Linked DNA regions of Homo sapiens: region 1 is linked to region 2. The links are contacts of gene promoters, found by promoter capture Hi-C in blood cells and fetal thymus (Javierre and others, 2016). All regions are on one chromosome and are shown on one strand. Each heading gives the region's core, a stretch centred on a gene start or on the middle of the fragment in contact. The rest is flanking DNA. Distances are from core to core; before and after follow the strand shown.

What was found. The method cuts DNA at HindIII sites, captures the fragments that hold promoters and counts their contacts. A CHiCAGO score of 5 or more calls a contact.
Region 1: a contact is called between the fragment with the promoter of BNIP5 here and the fragment with the promoter of LHFPL5 in region 2, in 2 of 17 cell types (total CD8 T cells and fetal thymus). The highest score is 6.7, in total CD8 T cells.

What each region holds. Positions count from the first base shown.
Region 1 is chr6:36,335,482-36,342,467 of GRCh38, reverse strand. It overlaps BNIP5 (BCL2 interacting protein 5), which reads left to right and starts at 5,580. Exons shown (of 12, transcript NM_001010903.5): 1 at 5,580-5,756. The HindIII fragment of the contact is 11,027 bases long and covers 1-6,986 here.
Region 2 is chr6:35,800,776-35,808,516 of GRCh38, reverse strand. LHFPL5 (LHFPL tetraspan subfamily member 5) reads right to left here and starts at 3,165. Exons shown (of 4, transcript NM_182548.4): 1 at 2,435-3,165. The coding sequence starts at 2,846. RefSeq lists a silencer at 3,127-3,296. The HindIII fragment of the contact is 6,136 bases long and covers 3,044-7,741 here.

The sequences.
Region 1 (6,986 bases), core at 4,331-6,830, 530 kb before region 2:
GCCCCAAACCACCTGGAACTACCTGCCATCAGGGACTCCTAGTTAACGTGAGATCATTGCATGTCGTTATTGCTTAAGCCAATAGTTCTCAGCTGGGCGAGATTTTGCTCTCCAGGGGACTTGGAGGCATTTTTGGTTTTCACTACTGGGTGGGATACTACTATCATCTAGTGAGTAGAGGCCAAGGATGCTGCTAAACATCCTACAACACACAGGACCGCCCCCCTCCCCTCTAGCAAATAGGTATCCAGTCCAAAATGTCAACAGAGATGAGGTTGAGAAACCCTGGCTTAAACCAGGTGCTTCCTTTACCGGCACAGTGTAAGAGGGCTTGCCAGAGCCACCAGAGGTTGAGGAGACCAATGTCCACCTTAGGACCCAGGAAAGAGGAATTTGGGGAATTATCCTGGCTGGGTTCACCCATGTGACACTGTTGGGCTTGGAGCAAGTTCTGTGAGACAGCTGTGGGCCCCTGTCCCATGATGAGACCTCACTGTGGGCCCTTCTACAGCAAATGTTCCCACTACCCAGGTGCCCACCAGCATCCTATGCCAAGTGCTCACTGCATCGCCTCACTCAAGTTTCCTAACAGTCCTGCAAGGTTGGTATCATTTATTCCCATTGTAATGGTGTGAAAATTGAGGTTCAGAAGAACAGTGGAGTGCACTTTGGAGACTGACAGATTTTTATTTTTATTTTTTTGGAGACAAGGTCTCGCTATGTTGTCCAGGCTGGATTAGAATTTCTAAGCTGGAGAGATCCTCCCGCCTTAGCCTCCTGGGGAGCTGGGAACACAGTTGCATGCCATAAGGCCTGGCTGACTGGCAGGTTTTAATCTGCCATTTACTAGTATCACTTAAGCATTTTACCTTTTTATTTTTTTTTGAGATGGAATCTCATTCTCGCCCAGGCTGGAGTGCAGTGGTGCCATCTCGGCTCACTGCAACCTCTGCCTCCCAGGTTCAAGCAATTCTCCTGCCTCAGCCTACCGAGTAGCTGGGACTGCAGGCGCACGCCACCATGCCCGGCTAATTTTCGTATTTTTACGAAAATACGAAATGTTGGCCAGGCTGGTCTTGAACCCCTGACCTCAAGTGATCCGCCCGCCTCAGCCTCCCAAAGTGCTGGGATCACAAGTGTGAGCCACCGCACCCGGCCTATTTTATCTTTTTGAGCCTTAATTTCCTGATCTGTAAAATAACAATATATTCTTTATGAATATTATTGTGGGCAAAAATCATGTATTTAGAAGCTCGTGCTACGGGCTTGAGGTCTGGTAACCATTTTGCGAATGGCCGTTGTCATTGCGATCACCAGCGCGCCCCCTGGGGGTAGGCAGCCGGAGCTGCAGCGCAGCTCTGCCTAATGTCAAAGCCACAGCTTTCCCACTCCGTGGGGACGGGCACTCGAGGCCCCCGCTTGCAGCAGGGACCCACAGACAGCTGAGGCGGAGGAGAGTCTAGGAGTCGCTGGGAGCCACGAGGCAGGGGAATCTGGAGGGGAACTGAGATTCACTGAGCATTTCCGGCACAAGACCTAAATCAGGCATCGCACACAGCAACCGAGGGGATATTCTGAGGCTATTTTCGGGCTGGAGACTCTGGTTCTGGGTTCTGACGGGGCTTGGGAAGGAGTGAGGTCATAGCCTTTCCGGCACCTCTCACTGAGGACACTGAAGGAGACTTAGGGAAGGCCGGTGGGTTGGAGGCTGGACCTCGAATTAGCAGGCTCCAGGCAGAGGGTGTGGCCCGGGAAAGGAGTGAGAGTTCACCAGCTTGCTCTTTGCTCTGCGGTGAACAAGAGCCGCAGAGCAAATGAAGATCCAGGCTCATTTCCATATGTAGATAATTCTGCCGGGATGGGGACGGATTTCTGGGAAGCAGCGTTCACACTCAGAGAGGTTAGAGTGTGCCTTGTGAAAATCCTTCTTAGGTTTGTTACTCAGAACCGCCAAATCCCGCGCTCCTGAGACTGGGGCCCTGTGTTCCACCCACTCCTCTCCGTTGGCTACCATCATTTTTATCCAAGACCACGTTTATCTTCCGTGCCCCGTGCTGCACACGCAGCCCACACAAGCGGGTGAAAAATCTTTATAAACAAATGTACAGACTCTCTGGAAAAAACAACAACAAAATCTCAATTGTGTGAATATGCCACTGTTTGTACATTTTCCTGTTAATGGGCATTTAAGTAGTTTCAAGTTTTTGAGAGTTTGGCTCTCACAAACAGCACTGATATACACATTCATATCAAAGTTGTTTCGGGGGGCCATGGGGATGCATTTCTGTTGTGTATCTATCTGGGGGTGGAATTGCTGGGTCACAGGGCAGGTGTTTGTTCAGCTTTGATAGATATTGCCAGCCGATTTTTCCAAGTAGTTGCACCATTTTCCACTCCCACCAGCAGCGTATGAGAATTCTGTTTGCCCCACATGGGCTCTGACACTTGGGATTGTCCGTCTGAGAATGACAGCACAGCAGTATGGCTGAGTCCCGCAGACATGCGGTGAGAAAAGCCAGGCATAAAAGAAAACATGCAGACCGATGATGCTCAAAAATAGGCAAAACTAATCTAATCTGGGAGTCGTGAGGGCAACAAGGTGGGTTCTGGGGTGCCAGGAATGTTCTCTTTCTTCATCTGGGTGGTGGTTACACAGGTTTATTCCCTTCGTGAAAATTCATTGAGCTGTCTGCCTGTGATCTGTGCACCTTTTTATACGTTATACTTAAATAAAAATTTTAAAGATATTCTCTCTCAATCTCCCTCTCTCTCCCTCTGCCATCTTCCCTCCCAGCACATGGTTGGGAACTGTCACCTTCAGAGCCCCCTTCAAGGCTGTGTGACCTGGACTGTTGCACAGGGTGTGCACTCAGAAGGGCAGGGGGCTTGGTTTAATGTTCTGCTGTCTGTCTTGAAACTATTAATACGTTTTGAACAAGGGTGCTTTGTTTTCATTTTGCATGGGGGCTCACTCGTAGTGTAGCCGACCTTGGCCCTGGGACAGGCAGCTGCCAGAGTCTGTCTCCAGATCGTGGAGATCGTCTCCAGGATATGGTCTTTGGCAGGCACTGAGCACAGGGCTAGGTTGCCCCCCGGACCCCTGATGGAGAAGGCGTGGGATGCCCAGAGCTGCCCATGATGGTTCTCCCTCCCGTGAGAACCTAGGAGCGTATGTACCTGCAGATGGGATTGCTGGGTACATGGGAGATGTCTGCACGGTGTGCCACGTGGCTGTCTGCCCCTCCCCTTCTTTTTATTGTGGTAAAATATGCATGACATAAAGTTGACTGTTGTAACCTTTTTAAAGTGTACGGTGCAGTGGCATTAAGCACATTTTGATTGTTGTACCACTCTCCACCATTGAACCATCTCCAAACTCAAAAGTTGAGTTTGAGTGTGCCTTGTGAAAATCCTCCACATCTCAAAAGTTGTGGAGATGGTTGAATGGTGGAGGTAGTGGTACCACATTCCTCTCAAACTGAAACTCTGTACGCATTAAACAACTTCCTATTCCCTTCTGCTTGCTTGTATGATTTTTCTCTGTGTGTTTCTCTCTTCCCAACTACTTTATGGACTCCATGAGGGCTGGGCCAGGCTGGGCATATTCACCTTGGAATAAGAAAGAACACATACAATACACACAGGGCCTGGAAGAAGTGGTTGACACAATAGTTTCATTAAATAAATGAAAAATATGTAATATTATTTAACATTTGTTTGAAGGCTGAGTGACTTCTTGGACTAATAAATTCTAAATTTAGTGCTGAGACAGTGTCTGTCACATAGCTGGATCCAAAACCTGTTGACAGAATGAATGAAGCATTAATAACTCTGTTGCCCGTAATAAAACATTGGCCCTTTATTGAGCCCTTACAAGTACCAGGCACTGTTAATACACAGAAAGAAAGATGTCTGGCACTCCATACATTTCCTTCCTTCCTTTCCTTCTCTTTCTTCCTTCCTTTCCTTCTCTTTCTTTGTTTCTTTCTTTCTTTCTTTTTCCTTCCTTCCTTCCTTCCTTCCTTCCTTCCTTCCTCCCTCCCTCCCTCCCTTTCTTCCTTTCTTTCCTTCTTTTTTTCCTTCCTTTCCTTCCTTTCTTCTTTTTTCCTTTGAGACAGGATCTCACTCTGTTGCCTAGGCTGGAGTGCAGTAGCACGATCATGGCTCACTGCAGCCTTGACCTCCTGGGCTCAAGCAATCCTCCTGCCTCAGCCTCCTGAGTAGCTGAGACTACAGGCATGTGCCACCATGCCTGGCTAATTTTTAAAATTTTTAGTAGAGATAAGATCTCACTATGTTGTCCAGGCTGGTCTTGAACTTCTGGGCTCAAGCAATCCTCCTACCTTGGTCTCCCACAGTGCTGGGATTACAGATGTGAGCCACCATGCCTGGCCTTCTTCTTTTCTTTGTAAGCATTATCGCATTTGGCCCAACTACCCTCTGAGATGACTACTTGTTTTATAAGTGAGCACAAGCTCAGTGACATCATGTCCCCTGCTGTGGTTACACAGCTGGCAGGTGTCTCCAGATGGGGCTGACTCCAAAGTTTGGTGCTTCCATATATATTTTGTGATGCCTCCCTGTGTTAATGAACCAAAACAGAATTTCTTAATATTTTTTTCTTTTTTTTTCTTTTTTTTTTTTTTTTTTTTTTTGAGACAGAGTCTCACTCTGTCACCCAGGCTGGAGTGCAGTGGCACGATCTCAGCTCACTACAACTTCTGCCTCCTGGGTTCAAGTGATTTTCCTGCCTCAGCCTTCCAAGTAGCTGGGATTACAAGTGTCTGCCACCATACCTGGCTAATTTTTGTATTTTTAGTAGAGATGGAGTTTCGCCATGTTGGCCAGGCTGGTCTCGAACTCCTGACCTCAGGTGATCCGCCTGCCTCAGCCTCCCAAATTGCTGGGATTACAGGTGTGAGCCACCGTGCCCGGCCTTTGCTTTCATTTTAATAAAACATGTTTTTCTTTTCTGATTATAAACATGTATTTACACTCTATTTTTTAAAATAAGGCATTACAGAAAGTGGAAATCTGACTTTTTAAGACTTCTTAGAATGTTCTCTCAAGATCCATGGCAACCCTTCCCGGGCATAGCAGATCTGGAACACGTGGCTCTTGTGGGCTCTTCCTTCTGGGTTGTCTCCAGGTCAAGGGATGTATGTATCCCATCGCTGACCTTTCTTTCTAGGTACCTCCCTCCCCACTAATCTTCAAAGATAACTGAGGGATGTTGTAAAGGCAATAAAGCCACCTCGACTTTCTCCCCCTAACCTGCATTTCCCATTAAGTCTTGTTTTCAACTCTACAGGTGGGGTTTTCCCCAGCCAGACCTTAGGTTATTTTCTGAGCTTTGGTTTCTTACTGGGGTTTGGGTGCAATAAGGAAGTTGACAAGTGAAACTGTTTTTTCCAGGGTAGCTGAGCTAAGCCTCTTATCATTGGAGGAGCGGGGAGCAGTCCTGGGATGGGTGGTAACAGGTGGAGGAAGGTGAGCCAGCCCATGGCTCTCTGGATTGGCTGCCATGAGCTCAGTTCCTGGGAGATACTGTATATATGGACGGCCAAAGCATCTTCTGAGACACTCAGAAAATTGCCAGCACCAAAGTAGTGGCATCTTCTCCCTGGGAGAGCTGGGTCTGACTTCTCACTGGACACAACTTCCAGCTGACAGGGAGCAGAGCCTAACACAGAGACCTCTTGTCTGAAGATCCCAGCCCAGGGTGTTCAGGACAGAAGCGATTTCTGTGGTCCAAGGTTGGTTGAACAATACCCTCTCCTTTGGGGGCGGGAGCAGTGGGTATGTATCTTGGGGTCCGGAGAAGAGTTTAGTCCTGGGTGTCAAACCAAGAGTCCAGTCCCAATGCTGCTTCCAGCATGCTGGGCCCTCCCAGAGAGGCAATGGGGGTGGAGGTGGGGGATCAGTTTTCTTATCTCTAAAAAGAGGGAGCAAGGTTCAATGACATTATCTCAACGGGGTGTTTCTCAAAGGGCTCTGGGCTCACTCGGACTTAAAACTCTGTATTCAAGTCCCAATCCTGCTTATTAGCCGCCACCCTGAGCAAGGAACTTCACTTCCTTGGGCCTCAGTTTTCTTGTCTGTAGGATGGGGCAGCATTACATAGCTCACCTGCTAGTTTCCCTCAGGATGTGGTAGAGGTCAAGTTATAGACTTTATGTGAAGGTACATGAGGGAACCCCCTGATAAATGAGAGGTGTTATTATGACCTATGGTTAAATTAAGGTTCTATGAGTTTTAAGGTTTTTGGAAGTTAGTCCAAGAATGGGGAAATCTTATTAAAATAACTCATGGTCTACTGCTCTCTTGGATGGGAATGTAGAGGCTGGGAGGTGGATTATAACCCACAGTCCTGACCGACTCCTCACACAGTGTTGCATTGCCCGTGGTCTTGGATAGAGGACAGAATGGGGTGGGGAGGGCATGGGTGTCTATACCTAGGCACACGTGATTGTGTGACTCCATGTGCATAGGTCATGGTAGGTGTGTATGTGACTGTGATTACCTCCATCAGTGTGAAATAGCAGGTTTCTCCCCTAAGTCCATGTGTAAGTGCGTGCATGTGTATCTATGCTTACATGAGGCCATTTGGTGTAGAATAGAGAATGTAGGATTTGAATCGGGAGAAGTGGGAGAGTCTCAGCTCTCTGCTTCCCGGCTATGTGACCTTGGGCGTGTCTCTTAATGGTCCGGAGCCTCAGTGCCCCACTGTTAGCCCATCTGATTCACTGCTCCTGGCAAAGATGAAATGAGATCATGTCAATGAAACGGCTCTCTGGACGCCGTGTGGCTGCATGAAGGTGAGCTGGTTTGGGTTTGCACATGCCTGTGTATCATTTGTTTGTTTCACAAACACTGAGAGCCTCCCAGGCTCAGGTCCCCTCTCATGGAATTTAGAGTTAGGACCGATGGCAAGCGGTGAGCTTGGTCACATAATTATTCCCTTACACTTGGGACAGGAGAAATAC
Region 2 (7,741 bases), core at 1,916-4,415:
TTTTATTAACCCAGCTAATTTTTGTATTTTTTGTAGAGACACAGTTTCGCCATGTTGCTCAGGCTGGTCTCGAACTCCTGAGCTCAAGCAATCTGCCCACCTCGCCCTCCCAAAGTGCTGGGATTACAGGCCTGAGCCACTGCAGCTGGCCTTATTATTATTTTTATTTATATATATTATTTATTATGATTATTTTTAATTTATATATATATATATATAAAATAGAGATAGGGTCTCACTATGTTGTCCAGGCTGGTCTTGAAGTCTTGAACTTCTGGCCTCAAGCAATCCCCTCTCCTTGGCCTCCCAAAGTGCTAGGACTACAGGCATGAGCCGCTGTGCCTGCCCCCACCATCATTCTTGACATGGCCACCACCTACCTTGCTCCCCACTGCCCACCCCTGCCCCGGCCTCTCTCTTATCATACAGAGAGACTACAGAGAACAGGGAGGTGGCAAGGGGATTTGCTGGGAACTCTGAAGCCATGTGAGTAGCCTGGGTGCAAGATTTGGAATCAAAGGTGCATGCCTTCCTACTTGTATGCTCAAAGACAAGTTACCCACTAGGGGCCTTCTTTGTAAAATAGATAAATACCCACCTCAATGGGTTGTGCTGGGGCTCCTCCAGATATTATATGTAAAGATATTTCATAGATCATTATACTTATGTAAATATGTGGCTCAGTAAAAACATCTTAGGAATACATCTAGTTCCTTGGTCCTCAGTTGCCCGCTTAATTCTTCCTGGTCCTCAGGTGCCTGCTGATCTGCTACAGCCTTGGCCAAGTCTGGTCCTTTCTCTCAGCAGCAGATTCCTCATCTATAGTTGGGGGGTGGATATAGCTCTCTGGGGTCCCCTCCAACTCTGCAGTCTTGAATCTGCATGTTTGGTGGTCTGGGATTCAGATGCCTGTTTCAGTCTCCCTCTTAAAGATGACAGCACTTCTCATTCTGACCAATGAGATGGTTTCACTCTAGTTTCCAGTCCCCGGCACTACTCCTGGACATCTCACCGACATGGACAGTTTGTGGCCCCTGAGGTGTGCAGGGACCAAGGTACCAGAGGCTGCAGCACAAGGTCTTAACCCTCTTCCTGGGCTACAGAGAAGAGCAAGACCACTTGGCACAAGGACCAAGAAGCCTTCCTGAGCTAGAAGCAGGAAAAAGGACCAGGGAGGTTTTGCCTCAAGGCACAAGTAGCTGCCTACCCCACAGTTTTATTTGTTTTATTTTATTTATTATTATTATTATTATTTTTAGAGACAGGGTCTTTCCATCTTGCCCAGTCTAGTCTCAAACTCCTGAGCTCAAGTGATGCTCTCTCCCAAAGTGCTGGGATTACAGGTGTGAGCCGCTGTGCCCAGCCCCCACATTGTTTTAAAGGACCCTAGGCCAGGTGCTGTGGATCACATCTGAAATCCCAACACTTTGGGAGACTGAGGCAGGCAAATCACTTGAGCCCAGCAGTTCAAGACCTGCCTGGGCAACATGACAAAACCCCGTCTCTACAAAAAATACAAAAAAAATTAGCTAGACATGGTGGTGCGCACCTGGAGTCCCAGCTACTTGGGAGGCTGATGTGAGAGGATCACCTAAGTCCAAGGAGGTTGAGGCTGCAGTCAGCTGAGATCATGCCACTGCACTCCAGCCTGAGCCAAAGAGTGAGACTCTGTCTCAAAAAACAAACAAACAACAACAACAACAAAAGGACCCTAAATAGCTTCCTCTACCTCACAAAATATCACTCCATTTGCTGCCTTAAGTATAAAATCCCATGATCAAGGAAAAAAGACTTTCACTCCACAATGAAAGAGGGGAATTTAGATGAAAGTTTCTATAGGCAAGGTCATACCCTGCATAATAGTAACACTCCAAAATCAGCAAGAGACCTTAGAATCTGAGAGCAGTTTGGAGTGGGAGAGAGAGAATGAGGACAGAGTTCTGGGCACTCTTAAAAAGAACAAAAGCCCAGAGGTGGGAGATGAAGGCATCTAGAATGTGCTTGACTGGTGTCACTACTTTGTGCTAGGGTTGAGTCCTATTCCCACATGGCCAACAATGGAAGCTTCCTTCTTTCTCTCTCTCACAGCTGCAAAAACTGATGTGATGGCCTGGGAATCAGGACTGGCAACTGTGTGCTCCTGGGCAAGTCACTTCCCCTTACAGATGAGGTTCTGGGCTCAGATGAGGTTCTGGGCTCAGAACCTCATCTGTAGGATGAGAGGGTTGGACAGCTTGGTCTCTAAGGTCTTTTCTGCCTCTGCCATTTTAAGATTCTCAACTCCTCAGAATCTTCTGCAGAGCACTGAGTAGGACTGGGCTATAGGAGAACAGCTAAATTTAAGGCCCAGAGCCCTGGCAGAGGCTGGGATGGTGCAGCTGCAGCTGTGGCCCCGGGGTGGGCCCCTGCCTGCCCTCCCACCATCTCTGCTTACCCGCAGCCAGCTGCATCCATGCACAGATCTTATAGACTGTGGCCGTGTTGCAGATGAAGAACAGGCTGAAGCAGATGATGGAGCCAATGATGAGGAACATGCCCAAGGCCACAAAGAACATGGCAGTCTTGAAGGCTCTAGAGGGGATGGAGGAGAAGTCTAGGGGGCCGCCCTTGCAGATGAGCTCGGAGGACAGCACGTTACCCACGCAGTAGGAGAAAAGGCCGAAGTAGCCTGCCTGCGGTGTGTTGACGCTGTCGCCGATCCAGTAGGGCTGGATGAAGAGGGCCATGACCAGTACGGAGAAGCAGATGGTGAGGGTACCCCACATCACGCCCACGGCTCGCGAGTTCCGCACATAGTTGGTATGGTAGATCTTGGCTGCCTCCTGGGCCGGCAGCAATTTCACCATGGTGAGGGCAGCAGGCCCTGGGCTGGGGTCCCGTGGGCTGCAAGTCCGTAGCTTTGTGGATGGAGGCCTAGAAGCAGGTCACTCCCCAGCGGGGTTTGGGGAGGAGGCTGAGGTCAGGGCACCAGGTGAGGTCCCTTCAAGGCAAGGGGAAGAGGCTTAATAGGACAAGGACAACCTTGATTTGGTCAAGGAAAGCTTGCCAGGTGCCTGTGTCCGCTCTAGCCGAGGCTGTCTCCAGTCTCCTGCCTCCTCCCAAGCCCACCAGGGCCTGCTGGCGCCGCCCTGCCCGTCTCCCTCTTCCCGGCTCACGGCTCCCGAGAGCCCCGCCCCCTCCTCCGTCCGCGGAGGGCGCCGTTTCAGCACCGCGGCCAGCGCCCCGGGGTTCCGGGCGAGGGGCGGGGCCTGCAGCAGAGGCGGGGAAGGGGCAGAGCTCCCACTACAGGCCCCCGCCGCGGGGAATCGGAACACCGTTCACCTTCCTGAACCGAGATGACAAGAATTGGGAAGGTGGGGATGTGACTGACACATTCCTACTGCTCAATTCCAGCAGCAAAAACGCTTTCCCCCCGCAAAAGCGCTGTCCACATCCCATCCCACCCCGCCCCTGCCTGGCTCCCTAGTCGCCTTCCCAGAACCTCCAACTCCACCACTCCGGAGGTCAGCAAAGCCTTTCCTGGTTGCCTTCTGGTCACCGGTTTTTCGTCCTTAGCATTCAGTCAACGATTTCTAAAAGCATACTATGTGTTAAGATTATGTTGGAGGACATCTAAGCAAAACCACAGATAAAAAAGACAGGGCCCCCGTCCTCAAAGACAGTGAAATATTTACATATATAATATACGTATATATGTAGTCTATATAAATATATATATAAAACGCCTGTATATGCAGACTGATTGTGTGATAACAGAAGCAACTACAAAGTATAGCAGACAACATTCTTTATGAGCCTTCTCAGACCTGAACATATGTGTTTTGTCAAATACAATGCCTTTCTCCCCTTGTTTCTATTTGTTTGTTACATATTTCCCCATTTAAATATATATATGTTTTAATATATTATATATATACATATTTCTCCTGATTTTATAGGTAAATACATGGCTAGTGTAAAGAACTAGGAAAATTCCACTGGGCGTGGGGCTTACGCCTGTAATCCCAGCACTTTGGAAGGCCAAGGCAGGCGGATCATGAGGTCAGGAGATCGAGACCATCCTGGCTAACACAGTGAAACCCCGTCTCTACTAAAAATACAAAAAAATTAGCCGGGCGTGGCAGCACGCGCCTGTTGTCCCAGCTGCTGGGGAGGCTGAGGCAGAAGAATGGTGTGAACTCGGGAGGCGGAGCTTGCAGTGAGCCGAGATCGCGCCACTGCACTCCAGCCTGGGTGACAGAGCAAGACTCCGTCTCAAAAAAAAAAAAATAATAATAATAATAACACCAACGTCCGGAGCTAAGGAAAGACAAGACAATCTTAAAAACATGGACTTTGGGGTTCAACAGGCCTGGATTTGAATGAGCTACTTACTAAGTAACCATCCATGGACTTAACCTTCCTTCCGGAGCCTCAGTTTCGCCATCTATTAAATGCAGGAAATGCACTTACGCCGGGCGTAGTGGCGGGTGCCTGTATTCCCAGCTACTCAGGAGGCTGAGACAGGAGAATTGCTTGAACCCCGGGAAGCAGAGGTGGCAGTGAGCTGAGATCGCACCATTGCACTCCAGCCTGGGCAACAAGAGCAAAACTCCATTTCAAAAAATAATAATAATAATTTTTTTTTTAAAGTGCTCAAAGGTACATTAGTGGTCTCTAATCCCAGCACTTTGGGAGGCCAGGCAGTCCGATCACTTGAGCTCAGGAATTCTAGACTAGCCTGGGCAACATAGCAAGACTCCCGTCTCTACAAAAAATACACAACTTAGCCAGGCATAGCCAGGCATGGTGGTGCTTGCCTGTAGTCGCAGCTACTTGGGAGGTTGAGGTGGGAGAATCACTGGAGCCCAGGAGGTCGAGGCTGCAGTGAACCATGATCACACCACTGCACTCCAGTCTGGGCTTTAACAAAAAAAGAGAAAGTACTCAAAAATGTTGGTGATTATTATTATTACCATTGTTAATCTCTGCAGTTTCCCCCTTCTGAACATACTCCTTTACACAATTGGATGATGTATGTACAATTTTATTTTATTTTATTTTATTTTATTTTTATTTTACTTTTCTTGAGACAGAGTTTCACTCTTGTTGCCCAAGCTGGAGTGCAATGGCATGATCTTGGCTCACAGCAACCTCCGCCTCCCTGGTTCAAGCGATCCTCCTGTCTCAGCCTCCCAAGTAGCTGGGATTACAGGCATGCACTGCCATGCCCAGCTAGTTTTTTGTTTTGTTTTGTTTTTTGTTCTTTGAGACAGAGTTTTGCTCTTGTTGCCCAGACTGGAGTGCAGTGGCGCGAACTTGGCTCACGGCAACCTCCACCTTCCTGGTTCAACTGATTCTCCTGCCTCAGCCTCCTGAGTAGCTGGGATTACAGGCATGGCCGCCACACCCAGCTAACTTTGTATTTTTAGTAGAGACAGGGTTTCTCCATGTTGGTCAGGCTGGTCTCGAACTCCCAACCTCAGGTGATCCACCTGCCTCGGCCTCCCAAAGTGCTGGATTACAGGCATGAGCCACCGTGCCCGGCCGTATGTACATTTTTTTCACTTAGCATTATAATGTTAATATTTTCTCCTATTACTTTTTTTCCCTTTGGTATGTTTTGTCAGTTTCACATTTTTTTTTTTTTTTTTTTTAGACAGAGTTTTGCTCTGTCACCCAGGCTGGAGTACAGTGGCTCAATCTCAGTTCACTACAACCTCCACCTCCCGGGTTCAAGCGATTCTCCTGTCTCAACTTCCCAAGTAGCTGAGAGTACAGGCATGAGCCACCATACCCAGCTAATTTTTGTATTTTTAGTAGAGGCGGGGTTTCACCATGTTGGCCAGGCTGGTCTCGAACTCCTGACCTAAAGTGATCCACCTGCCTCGGCCTCCCAAAGTGCTGGGATTACAGGCTTGAGCCACTGAGCCTGGCCCTTCACTTTTTCACTTTATTTATTTTTTTTGAGACGAAGTCTCACTCTGTTGCCCAAGCTGGAGTGCAGTGGCGCAATCTCGGCTCACTGCAACCTCCACCCACCTCCCGGATTCAAGTGATTCTCCTGCCTCAGCCTCCCAAGTAGCTGGGACTACAGCCGTGAGCCACCACACTCAGCTAATTTTTGTATTTTTATACAGACAGGGTTTCACTATGTTGGCCAGGCTGGTCTCGAACTCCTGACCTAGTGATCCGCCCGCCTTGGCCTCCCAAAGTGCTGGGATTACAGCTGTGCCCGGCCAGTAAGGTTGTTTTGTTTAATTTTGTTTTGTTTTGTTTCGTTTTATTGAGACGAAGATTCGCTCTTGATGCCCAGGCTTGAGTGCAATGGCACAGTCTCGGCTCACTGCAACCTCCGCCTCCCAGGTTCAAGCGATTCTCCTGCCTCAGCCTCCCAAGTAACTGGGATTACAGGCATGTGCCACCATGCCTGGCTAATTTTGTATTTTTAGTAGAGATGGGGTTTCATTATGTTAGTCAGGCTGGTCTCAAACTCCTGACCTCAAGTTATCTGCCCGCCTCGGCCTCCCAAAGTGTTGGGATTACAGGCGTGAGCCACCGCACCTGGCTCAGGTTGTTTTTAATAGTAAAAAAGTGGCTGGGTGCAGTGGCTGGCTCACACCTGTAATCCCAACATTAATAATAATTTTGAAGCTAGCTTATGTATTAAAGATTTTACTTACATTACATAAACTTGAAACAGCATTTGACTAGTCTTTTTTCCTGATAAAGTGTTCAAGTGCTTTTATTTTCTTAAGCCAATTAGAGCTCTTTTATTTATTTTCAGTAGTGAAACACTGTGCACACCACCCATAAATACATAGACATATCAGGCATGCCTATAGAAGTACATCTTACAGATTTATAAAAACCTTTTTTTTTCCTATTTTAATCTTTCAGATTCTTTTTGTTTGTTTTTGAGATGGAGTCTCGCTCTGTCACCTAGGCCGGAGTGCAGTGGTGCAATCTTGGCTCACTGCAACCTCTGCCTCCCAAATTGAAACAATTCTTCTGCTTCAGCCTCCCGAGTAGCTGGGATTACAGGTGCCTGCCACCATCCTCAGTTAATTTTTCTATTTTTAGTAGAGACGGGGTTTCACCAGGTTGGCCAGGAAGGTCTCAAACACCTGACCTCAAGAGTTATCAAATTCTTGATAACCTCTTTCACAACCCTAGGCAGTTGACAGCTAAATAGCCTTAAATTTGCATATTAAAGGAAACAGTTCAGATGAAAGTCAAACAGCAAAATTTACATTATAAGGTGCGCCAAGAAAAGTCTGGTGTTCTAGAGGGAAATTAAAACAGATTTAATTGCCAATTAAACATAAAAGTATGGAAATTATAAAGGCCTTTTAAACACACACACACACACACACACCTTGTAGCTTTTACTTCAGAACTTTTAGCCATGAAATAAATACAAATTCACCTGGCTTGCAAAAAGAACTTGTTGGATCTAAACAGTGGTTTTTCTCTTAATAGAAAAATAACAGCAGATTGCCGGGCGCGGTGGCTCACGCCTGTAATCCCAGCACTGTGGGAGGCCAAAGTGGGCGGATCACGAGGTCAGGAGTTCCAGACCAGACTGGCCAACATGGTGAAACCCCATCTCTACTAAAAATACAAAAAATTAGCTGGGTGTGGTGGCAGGCACCTATAATCCCAGCTACTCAGGAGGCTGAGGCAGGAGAATGACTTGAACCCGGGAGGCAGAAGTTGCAGTGAGATGAGATTGTGCCATTGCACTCCAGGCTGGGCAACA